2 separate regions of the Homo sapiens genome follow, and region 2 is linked to region 1. The links are contacts of gene promoters, found by promoter capture Hi-C in blood cells and fetal thymus (Javierre and others, 2016). All regions are on one chromosome and are shown on one strand. The core of a region is centred on a gene start or on the middle of the fragment in contact, and the rest is flanking DNA. Distances in the headings are between cores, read along the strand shown.

What was found. Contacts are between HindIII fragments. The CHiCAGO score rates a contact against its expected background, and 5 or more counts as called.
Region 2: a contact is called between the fragment with the promoter of OR6T1 here and the fragment with the promoter of OR8B2 in region 1, in 1 of 17 cell types (erythroblasts). The highest score is 6.4, in erythroblasts.

What each region holds. Positions count from the first base shown.
Region 1 is chr11:124,381,838-124,387,155 of GRCh38, forward strand. It overlaps OR8B2 (olfactory receptor family 8 subfamily B member 2), which reads right to left and starts at 2,662. Exons shown (of 2, transcript NM_001005468.2): 1 at 2,537-2,662; 2 at 557-1,523. The coding sequence starts at 1,506. The coding sequence ends at 565. The HindIII fragment of the contact is 13,920 bases long and covers 1-5,318 here.
Region 2 is chr11:123,939,941-123,945,243 of GRCh38, forward strand. OR6T1 (olfactory receptor family 6 subfamily T member 1) reads right to left here and starts at 3,898. Exons shown (of 1, transcript NM_001005187.1): 1 at 2,927-3,898. The coding sequence starts at 3,898. The coding sequence ends at 2,927. It overlaps OR4D5 (olfactory receptor family 4 subfamily D member 5), which reads left to right. Exons shown (of 1, transcript NM_001001965.1): 1 at 1-633. The coding sequence ends at 633. The HindIII fragment of the contact is 1,522 bases long and covers 3,865-5,303 here.

The DNA.
Region 1 (5,318 bases), core at 1,412-3,911:
ACAAATTTTGCCATTCTCAAAGGGAACAAGAAAAGTCAGAATAATAAAAGGCAAAATGGTGACAACATAGAACAAAAGGACAAGATCAAGGGGAACTGATTCTGCTTTAAATTACCTACCATTTGTAGTGGATATATTTCATCAAATCCAGCTGCCTATATCTGTAACAATGTTGATAAAAATAAGAATGCTTCTATCATATTTGGCACTTCTGTGTTTAGGTGAGAAAGCTGTGACTTTGACATTTTTATAATTCATGAAATTTACCACATTTTTCCAATTAAGAATAGCCCAGGAGAGAGGAAAGGTAGAAAATGATGAAGAAAAATATCAGTGCATATGTTCCCTTTACAAATATGCCATGACCTCTTTAGTAATATTGCGAGAAGTGCCAGAGATGCAAAAACAAAAAAGAAGACACAAGATGATCTCATAAGAGAAATGATAAGACAAGTTTATTAAATCACACATAACACCATCTGTAGAAACAACAAAATCTCTTCATGAAAAACACTAATAAAAATTTGAAGTCCTTCAATTGTTTTACATCATTACTGCTTCTAATTAGAATATATTTCTCCTCTGAATTTTAATCAGAGCTTTCCTCAGTGCAACTTTGACATCCTTGTTCCTCAAACTGTAGATGAGGGGATTGAGCATGGGCACCACATTAGTGTAGAAAACAGAAGAAACTTTTCCCTGCTCCATAGATCCAGAAGAATATTTAATATACATGAATGCCGCTGACCCAAAAAACAGAGACAGAGCAATGACATGAGAGCTACAAGTACTGAAGGCTTTTGATCTTCCTTGAGTGGATTTGATATGAAGAATGCTAGTGACAATGAAAACATAAGAAATGAGGATGGTACAACTGGGTACCGTGATATTAGTACCCACAACAATGAGAACAACCACCTCGTTGACATAGGTGCTGGTGCAGGAAAGCTGGAGGAGGGGGAGTATGTCACACAAGTAATGGTTGATGATATTAGCACTGCAGAAGGTGAGTCTAAGCATGCACCCGGTGTGGGCCGTGGCTCCAGCCAATCCCATTATGTAAGCAGCAAAAGTGAGCATAGAACAGACCTGATGGGACATGGTGACCTTATACAGCAATGGATTACAGATGGCCACATAGCGATCATATGCCATTGAAGTCAACATGTAACATTCAGAGATGACGAAAAAGAGAAAGAAAAACAGCCGAGTCATGCACCCAACATTGGAGATAATATTCTTTTTTGACACAAAGTTCATTAGCATTTTGGGAGTGAAAACAGAGGAGTAACAGAGATCAATGAAGGAGAGATTGAAGAGGAAATAGTACATTGGTGTGTGGAGGTGAGAATTTAGACCGAAAAGAGTGATCAAGCCAAGGTTGCCTACCATGGTGACAATGTAGATCACTAGAAACAGGAAAAAGAGGGGTTGCCGGAACTCTGGATGATCTGTTAATCCAGCAAGAATAAATTCAGTCACTAAGGAGTTGTTTCTAGCCAGCATTTTTTGTCTTCAAAAATCTGGGAAGACAAAAGAAAATTCTATTAGGAACACAGATTTCTTTTTACAAAATCTCATTAATGAGGAGGGGACTCAGGCTGTAGGAATTTGGGTGAGTTCTTTGTTTCATGGGATCTGAATGTACTGAATGTACTGCCACTCCCACTCCTCAACATTTCAGTCAGTGTCTTTTGTCTGTACAGACTGAATGTGACAAACAATTGCTCCTGTCCTTACTAGAAGACACAGAGGTGGAGTAGCTGAGGCACAGGCCTACCTGCTGTTGAGCTTGGGTTATATGGATGTGTCTCATCTCCCTCACTTCCATCTGTCCCTTCACTTCCTAGTTTCTACTTATGTTTCCATTATTCTACTAGACACTTCAATTTCCCTGTGATGACCACCAGGTAAGGGAGGATTCCTTTAGGGCGGAGACCATACTGATATTCTGTTTCCTAGACAGGGGTCTCCTATAGGGTTTCTAGATACCTTACTATAAGAATCCATGAAGTCACCGGGTGATAAAAGAAGACCCTTAGTAGTCGAGGCCTTATGATTCACCACATACAAATCACATAAGTGTTTCTACACATTCTCCTCTATTCCATCCTAGCTAGACAGAGGATGAAGAAAGGAAGCTGAATGTGCTTTCACAGGTCTTTGTAGGAAGGCATAAGGGAAACATAATTAATTTGGGTACAGTTATATTAGTTGTTAAGTTTGTAAAATTTTACCAAACTGGTATTTTTATGACCCTTAAACTCTTCTATATGTATAGCACATGTCAATATATTTTTAATAAAGAGACAAATCTCCTTTCCTGGCATTCCTCTGTTCTGGATGTGTCACTTGGAACTGCTATTGCTATCCTGATACCAGGCTGAGAATGAAGCCAACAGAGAGAACAGTGTGAGAAAAATGCAAGCCCGAGAGTCAGAGCTCCATACCACTAAGTTTCTTGCTATTGAATAAATACTTTTCCCCATTTTTCAGCAACATCCAGGAGAGAGAAATAGAAACTTGATTAACTCACCTTCCTTCCACTCAGAGAACTCAGTGCTGACCATTGATATGTGTTTCACCTCCACTGCCCTGGAGGTAGAACTGGTGGTGAAGGTATCTACGTTGACCACATGTAGTCAAAGAATCTTCTTCTCCCTTACCTGGCAAAAGCATTGAGCATAGATCTCAGAATCTGAATGTTCTGGGAATCATTCTGAGGTGTAGATCAAACTATTTATAAATTTGCCAAGAGGGTTTGTTAGAAAATCAGACTTCACACCAGACCCACCATGTCCACCGTCATAGAGACATGGCATTTGCTCAAGGCTCATAATTCTTAGACCTGATTACATACCAACAGTAAGTCTCTCTCAGGACCTCCCCTACCATGACACACTCTGCAGGGAAGAAATTATATGCCTGTGTTTACAGCCTAACTTGTTGTTGTAGATGTAAACTTTTCATCAGGGATTATACAATCCACAGGGCATAGGAGAAAGAGCCTCTGCTGTCATGTATAAAGATGTAAACATAAAGATTGTCAGAATTTTTGCTAATTATAATTATCGGCAGTGTTAGCTTTAACAAGTATGTATGTATAATTTAGTAAAGTTTATTGCTATGCTCATTTTTAATATTGTGAGTCCTTTTAAATAATCCATTTTTAGTTTTGCATACTTTATAGGCAAAAAGAAAAGAAAAAGAATAAAGAAAAGGATACTTTTAATTGATTTCAGATTTTTTAAATAAAATTTTGTGTAACATAGAATGATCCTTTATTTCATCAAAATTTAATTATCTTGGGTTGCTCTAACTCAACATGTCTTTGCCTTTAACAGGTTAAAATCAAATCTGTAAGAAAAATCACTAATCATGTGCCCTCATTTTAAGACAGTATGACTTCAGAATTTCCCGGTAGGTAGGAATTTGTGCTTGTGAGAAGGCATCTATATTTTTTACCTTTTTATTTTAAAATTATTAGAATCACAAGAAGTGGCAAAAGTATATGTAGATTCCCTTGGACACTTCACCCAGCTTCCTCACACAGAGACATCTTCCACAACTGTAGGACAATAGCAAAATCAGGAAACTGACATAGGTTCAATAATGTTAAAGAAACTACAGACCTTATTCAGCAATTTAACATGCGTGTGTGTGTGTGTGTGTGTGTGTGTGTGTGTCTGTGTGTGTGTGTAGATCTATGCAGTTGAATCCTATGTACCTATTTATGTAACAAAAACCTAAGTCAGGATACAGAATTCTTTCTTTTTTTTCTTTTTCTCTCTCTCTCTTTTTTTTTTTTTTAAAGACAGGGTCCTACTCTGTCACCCAGGCATGAGTGCAGTGGTGCAATCACAGCTCACTGCAGCCTCAACCTCCAGGACTCAATAGATCGTCCCACCTCAGCCTCCCAAGTAGCTGGCACTACAGGCACATGCCACCACACCTGGCTAATTTTTTAATTTTTTGTAGGGATAGGGGGTCTCACTATGTTACCCAGGCTGGTCTTGAACTCCTGGTCTCAAGAAACCCTCCTGCCTCAGCCTCCCAAAAGTGTTGGGATTACAGGCATGAACCACCATGCCTGGCCTCTAATTAATTCTTAAACAGACTTTTAAGCATTCCATTTGTTCTGCCCCATCCTCACTTCTTCCAGAAATATCTGCTGTCGTGAAATTGTGAGAATGTTGGAGACTGTGTGTAAATCAGGTGTGTTCTTGGTTTTCCCAGTTCTATCATAGGGTCAGATGTTGTAAGAATGCCAGTGCAGATACTGCTTGTTTATCTACTGTCTAATTTCCAAAATCTGGGAGTTGTTCTAATTCTACCTTTTTTTTTTGTCCCTGGGAGCGAACACCATTTTTATTTTTATATATTTATTTATTTTTTTCCCTTCTGATTTGCTTCATTTTTTTATTTTATTATTATTATACTTTAAGTTTCAGGGTACGTGTGCACAATGTGCAGGTTAGTTACATATGTATACATGTGCCATGTTGGTGTGCTGCACCCATTAACTCCTCATTTAGCATTAGGTATATCTCCTAAAGCTATCCCTCCCCCCTCCCCCCACCCCACAACAGTCCCCAGAGCGTGATGTTCCCCTTCCTGTGTCCATGTGTTCTCATTGTTCAATTCCCACCTATGAGTGAGAATACGTGGTGTTTGGTTTTTTGTTCTTGCGATAGTTTACTGAGAATGATGATTTCCAATTTCATCCATGTCCCTACAAAGGACATGAACTCATCATTTTTTATGGCTGCGTAGTATTCCATGGTGTACACGTGCCACATTTTCTTAATCCAGTCTATCATTGTTGGACATTTGGGTTGGTTCCAAGTCTTTGCTATTGTGAATAGTGCCGCAGTAAACATACGTGTGCATGTGTCTTTATAGCAGCATGATTTATAGTCCTTTGGGTATATACCCAGTAATGGGATGGCTAGGTCAGATGGTATTTCTAGTTCTAGATCCCTGAGGAATGGCCACACTGACTTCCACAAGGGTTGAACTAGTTTACAGTCCCACCAACAGTGTGAAAGTGTTCCTATTTCTCCACATCCTCTCCAGCACCTGTTGTTTCCTGACTTTTTAATGATTGCCGTTTTAACTGGTGTGAGATGGTATCTCATTGTGGTTTTGATTTGCATTTCTCTGATGGCCAGTGATGGTGAGTATTTTTTCATGTGTTTTTTGGCTGCATAAATGTCTTCTTTTGAGAAGTGTCTGTTCATATCCTTTGCCCACTTTTTGATGGGGTTGTTTGTTTTTTTCTTGTAAATTTGTTTGAGTTCATTGTAGATTCTGGATAT
Region 2 (5,303 bases), core at 2,648-5,147, 440 kb before region 1:
GGCATCAAGATCTTCCTGCTGACTGTCATGGCGTATGACCGCTACATTGCCATTTCCCAGCCCCTGCACTACACGCTCATTATGAATCAGACTGTCTGTGCACTCCTTATGGCAGCCTCCTGGGTGGGGGGCTTCATCCACTCCATAGTACAGATTGCATTGACTATCCAGCTGCCATTCTGTGGGCCTGACAAGCTGGACAACTTTTATTGTGATGTGCCTCAGCTGATCAAATTGGCCTGCACAGATACCTTTGTCTTAGAGCTTTTAATGGTGTCTAACAATGGCCTGGTGACCCTGATGTGTTTTCTGGTGCTTCTGGGATCGTACACAGCACTGCTAGTCATGCTCCGAAGCCACTCACGGGAGGGCCGCAGCAAGGCCCTGTCTACCTGTGCCTCTCACATTGCTGTGGTGACCTTAATCTTTGTGCCTTGCATCTACGTCTATACAAGGCCTTTTCGGACATTCCCCATGGACAAGGCCGTCTCTGTGCTATACACAATTGTCACCCCCATGCTGAATCCTGCCATCTATACCCTGAGAAACAAGGAAGTGATCATGGCCATGAAGAAGCTGTGGAGGAGGAAAAAGGACCCTATTGGTCCCCTGGAGCACAGACCCTTACATTAGCAGAGGCAGTGACCTGAGAATCTGAAAGATGCTACAGGGTATTAGCCTGCTGGATAGGACCCTCGAGGTAGATAAAATCTATGCCTACTTCTTCTCCATTGTTCTTAACCTCAATCAGGTTCTGGTGACCTGAACTATTAGCCACAATAGAAGATGGGATGAGTGTCTTAGAACTGCTTCTAAATGCCTCCCAGATAAAAAGTATCAAGTTCTATGTAGAAGTACTGTTTGGCTCAGGGGCCACTTTCCCACGTAAGAATGATGTTGGCCTTGCTGAGAAAGTTTCAACTAGTAAATCTGGTGTCTCTTTCCTGATATCACTTTTTGGACACAAAGTACATTGGAAGAGCTTAAAATATTTTTAAATTTCTTTGAGACAAGGGTTCTCTTGAAATATTGGACCCTGAGTCCCAGTGGAGACTGATTGATTGATTGACTGTTCGTCAATGAGGAAAAAGGAAATTACCTTGGGCAAATCACTTTCTTCCTCATAGTTTCCTAGGGTCACTGTTGTTGCCATCAGTGTCATCATCATCATCATATTAATAACATTTAGTTAGAACTTACTATGTTCCAGACACTGTACCAGGTGATTTACATTTATTATTTTAATTTTCTCAAAATTCTTAGGAGGTAGGTATCATCTTTACTTTAAACATGAGTCCATTACAAATTAGAGACATTAAATAACTTACTTAAGGCTACAGAGCTTGTTTTCTGGAATTCAACCCAAGTCTATACAACATCAGAGCCCAAGTGCTCAACAGTACCTAAAACGTCTTATAGATTCTAAGGATCTGTGGGTTTATGTCATCACAGATAGAGTTTATATCATCGTGAGTTATACTGACATCATAGATAGACTTGGCATTTGATCCATCTTTTAAAATATGACTTGATCATTCTCTCCCTTACAATCACTCAGAGGCTTTCCATTGCCTTTAAAAAAAAAATCCACATGACTATTATAGATAAGATGTTGTCTGACCTGGCCTCCACCCATCTCTCCAATCTCACTTCTCTAACTCCACTCTTTTCTAACCCTCTGTTTGCATTTACTTCTGTCAGTTTCTCTTTACTTCTTGAGTTTGCAAATACTCTTTGCTATCTCTGGGATGCTCTTCTCTTCATCCTTGCCTGGCAAACTGTTGCTCAATCTCAATCCTCGGTCTAAAGGTCACTTCCTCAAAGATGTGTTCACTGATCTTTAATCCGAATTAATTTGTCCTTATTAGTTTCTCTAACAAAACTCAAAAGTATTTATCACAGATTTCAATTACACACTGATTTATGTATTTATTTATTAATATTTTTTGTCAGCCATCGCCCACTATACTATAAATTCTATAAAAGAAAGGGCCGTGTTTAGCTTACTTAATACTGTATTCTCCAAGCCTAGCACCACAGCCTAGATGAGGGTGCAGCAACAGAGGGGCCTCATGTCAACAATGAGCAGACATTTACTATCGAGTTTGTACACAGCCTGACCCTGCGCTAACACTCCCCTAAAAGTGCATGTCTCTTTAAAATTTGTTCTGTAGACATCTTCCTTGGCTCACCCTAGTTGGAGCCTTGCCATATTAGAGATTTAATAATATTTCTTAAAGGAATGATTAAATGAGTGTTGCCATATTTCAGTTTGTTGCCATATTTGAGTTTGTTAGTAGAGTTTGACTTAGGAATTAGGGCTATCCAAATATTTCACTGGTCTTAACATTCTTCCTTTATGAGATTCCTATAGGAGCTGCTAGTTACATAAGGAGCAATAACAAATGCAAATCAGAGAACCATTTATTACTGCAGCCAGAATTTGATTTTCTAATAATACAGAGGTTCTGGTTAATTTTATTTGCAGTACCCAGTCTAGTTGGAAGACCTCAGAGACCCTCTTACTCCCCACTGAGCTCCAAATCTGAATCTCCATATTTCAGCATCTTCTGATTGGCTACATGACACAGGAGACTGAGGCAGTAAGAAAAGTGTTTAAGCACACACGAAGAGAAGGAGGAGCCTCCCTGTATGCGGGTCACGTGCTCACACATGCTCTCCAATCCAAGGATTCCATCTTGAAAGAAATTTGACCAATTGGATCAGCCTTCTCTGTGGGGAGGAGGAGGCACAAGGAAGGTTGTAGGGAGGGAAAATGAAGGTTTACCACCGTATTTCATGTTGTATATTTATGAAGACTGTTCTTTCATTAGCTGAGAAAAGTGAACAGTGTTGCCTACATCCCTTAAACTTCTTGCACATTTAAAAAATTTTCAATAAACATTTAATCTCCCATTTAATAAGATCATTTCCTTTGACTTGTGACCCTCAGTTTCATCACAGCAGTGAGCCTGGGCCACCCCAAGGCTTCTCTCAGTGCTTGCTGCACCTTGTCATTGCGGAGAGTGAAGATGAATGGGTTCAAGAGGGGTGTGATGATGCAGCTCAGGACGGAGGCACCTTTGTTGAGCAGTTTGGACTGAGCCTCTGACATACGAATGTAGAGAAAGATGGAACTGCCATAGATGATGACCACCACTGTAAGATGCGAGGCGCAAGTGGAAAACGCTTTCCTTCGCTCAGCAGCTGTAGGGGCCCTGAGAACAGTGGCAAGAATGCAGGCATAGGAAACTGAGGTCAGAGCCAGTGAGCCCAGTAACACCAACGTAGAGAGCATGAAAGCCACCAGTTTCAGCAGGTGGGTGTCCCCACAAGAAAGCCTGAGCAAGGGCCAACTGTCACGAAAGAAGTGGTCAATACCATTGGGGCCACAGAAAGGCAGGCTGGCCATGAGGACAGTGGGGCAAAGGACCCAGAGGAATCCAGCTAGCCAGGAGGCCAGCACTAGTTGGGAACAGACATGGCCATTCATCAGGGTCTCATAGCGGAGTGGTCGGCAGATTGCCAGGTAACGATCCAGAGACATGACGGCCAAGAGGAAGAAGTCAGTGGTGCCTAGAAAGAAGTAGAGGTAGGACTGGATGATGCAGCTGACAAATGAGATGGTGTGATCCCCCGTGAGGATGACGACAAGCATCTTGGGAACCACAACAGTTACCAGCAACAGCTCCAGGAAGGAGAAATTCCGCAGGAAGAAGTACATCTGTATGTGCAGGCGTTGGTCTATCCAGCTGAGCACAATAATTAGCAGCTTGCCTGTGGCTGTTACAATGTAGGTCACCATTAACCCCAGGAACACCAGGAACTGTATGAGGTGGCTACTGGGGAAACCCAGAAGGACAAAGCTTGTTACCTGAGTCCAGTTTTCAGGGTTCATCTTCAGTCACCTGCAGGGGAAATGAAACAGAACTCTGTAACTGGTCTATAGCTACCAATCATCATTTAACCAATCGGTAAAATAATATTGAACACCCAACACTTCCTTACATTCTGAGAATATGTTGATCTATAGTTTGGTCTGCACGTGACTTACAAAGAGAGAAACAAATTACAATAGTAAGCAGCATGGCAATATTGAACATCAATTATATATCTGAAAATTTACACGGTGCACAGTATCTCTTCTCCTAGCTACTCTTAAAACTATGTTTTACTATTTTCAAAGATAAGAAAAGGATGACGAAGGGAGTTTAAGTGACTCTTCTATGATCAGGTAGGAAACAGGTGGTAGAGGCAGGATTTCATACTGAGCTTCTGTGACTCCAGCACATGCTGCTGATACTGTTGAGCTCAGGCAGAGAACCGTGTGAGTAGTGTGGCTTTAGACGAGTCCAGAGGAGTAGAGGGGTCAGAGAAGACTTCACAGAACAAATGCACCATGAACAAATTTTACTGGTATTAAGAACTCTCATTTTAGTGTTTATGGTCCTTCTGTGTCCTGGCTTGACATAAAATAACAGAATTTAAAAATCTGGGCTCTCGGTATACTCAGAGATTTAATTTTCATTAGTCAGCCATGAAGCCAAATAGGACCGGATTGTGCAAAGCCCAGTCCTGTCATAAAGTGTTATTTTTCTTTTTTCCCCCAATCCAGACTCCTGTAGAATGCTAGAAATCCTTCTTCCTTGTGGAATGCTTACTAGCTTCTCTTACCTTCAGCTTGCTCAATATTCTAATAGTATAAAATGAGGAATAAGGGAGAATGGTCTCAAAGGAGATGGTATATATCAACTTGCCTTCTCAACTTTTGCCTTAATTTGGAGATATGTTCATCTTGTCCTTGGAGCTTTTGGAATCCTGTAAAATGTATCCACATGTTTTGAAGGACTGGATTTCATTAGACAATTAGATATCTTGGGTTCTTTTTTTTTTTTTTAAACATCTAGCACCAAATACTCAGAATCACATAGATTTGGCCTAATCAGGGAAAATGGAAAATGTTCTAAGACAAAAAGAATGAAAATGAGCATCAAGTTACATTGTTTAATTGACAAGGAATGAAGTGTTGAGAGTTTAGACAGTTTAACTGAGGAATATCTATTACTTCAGACCAACAGTGTTAAAGACGAGGAGCACAGATATTTTCTCAATTCTGTCTGAAGCTACTTTAACAGATAGTATTGAACTGAGGCAAGAAATCCAGGTTTGAAGGATATTTCTGTTCTGTTTACATCAATTTTGGAAAGAATAAGTCTGGGATTTAAGTAGCTAAGTAATAATAATGCTTCATTCTGCTAGTCTAGGGCTTGTGTCTCCAAAATCAAAGAAATACCATAATAAAA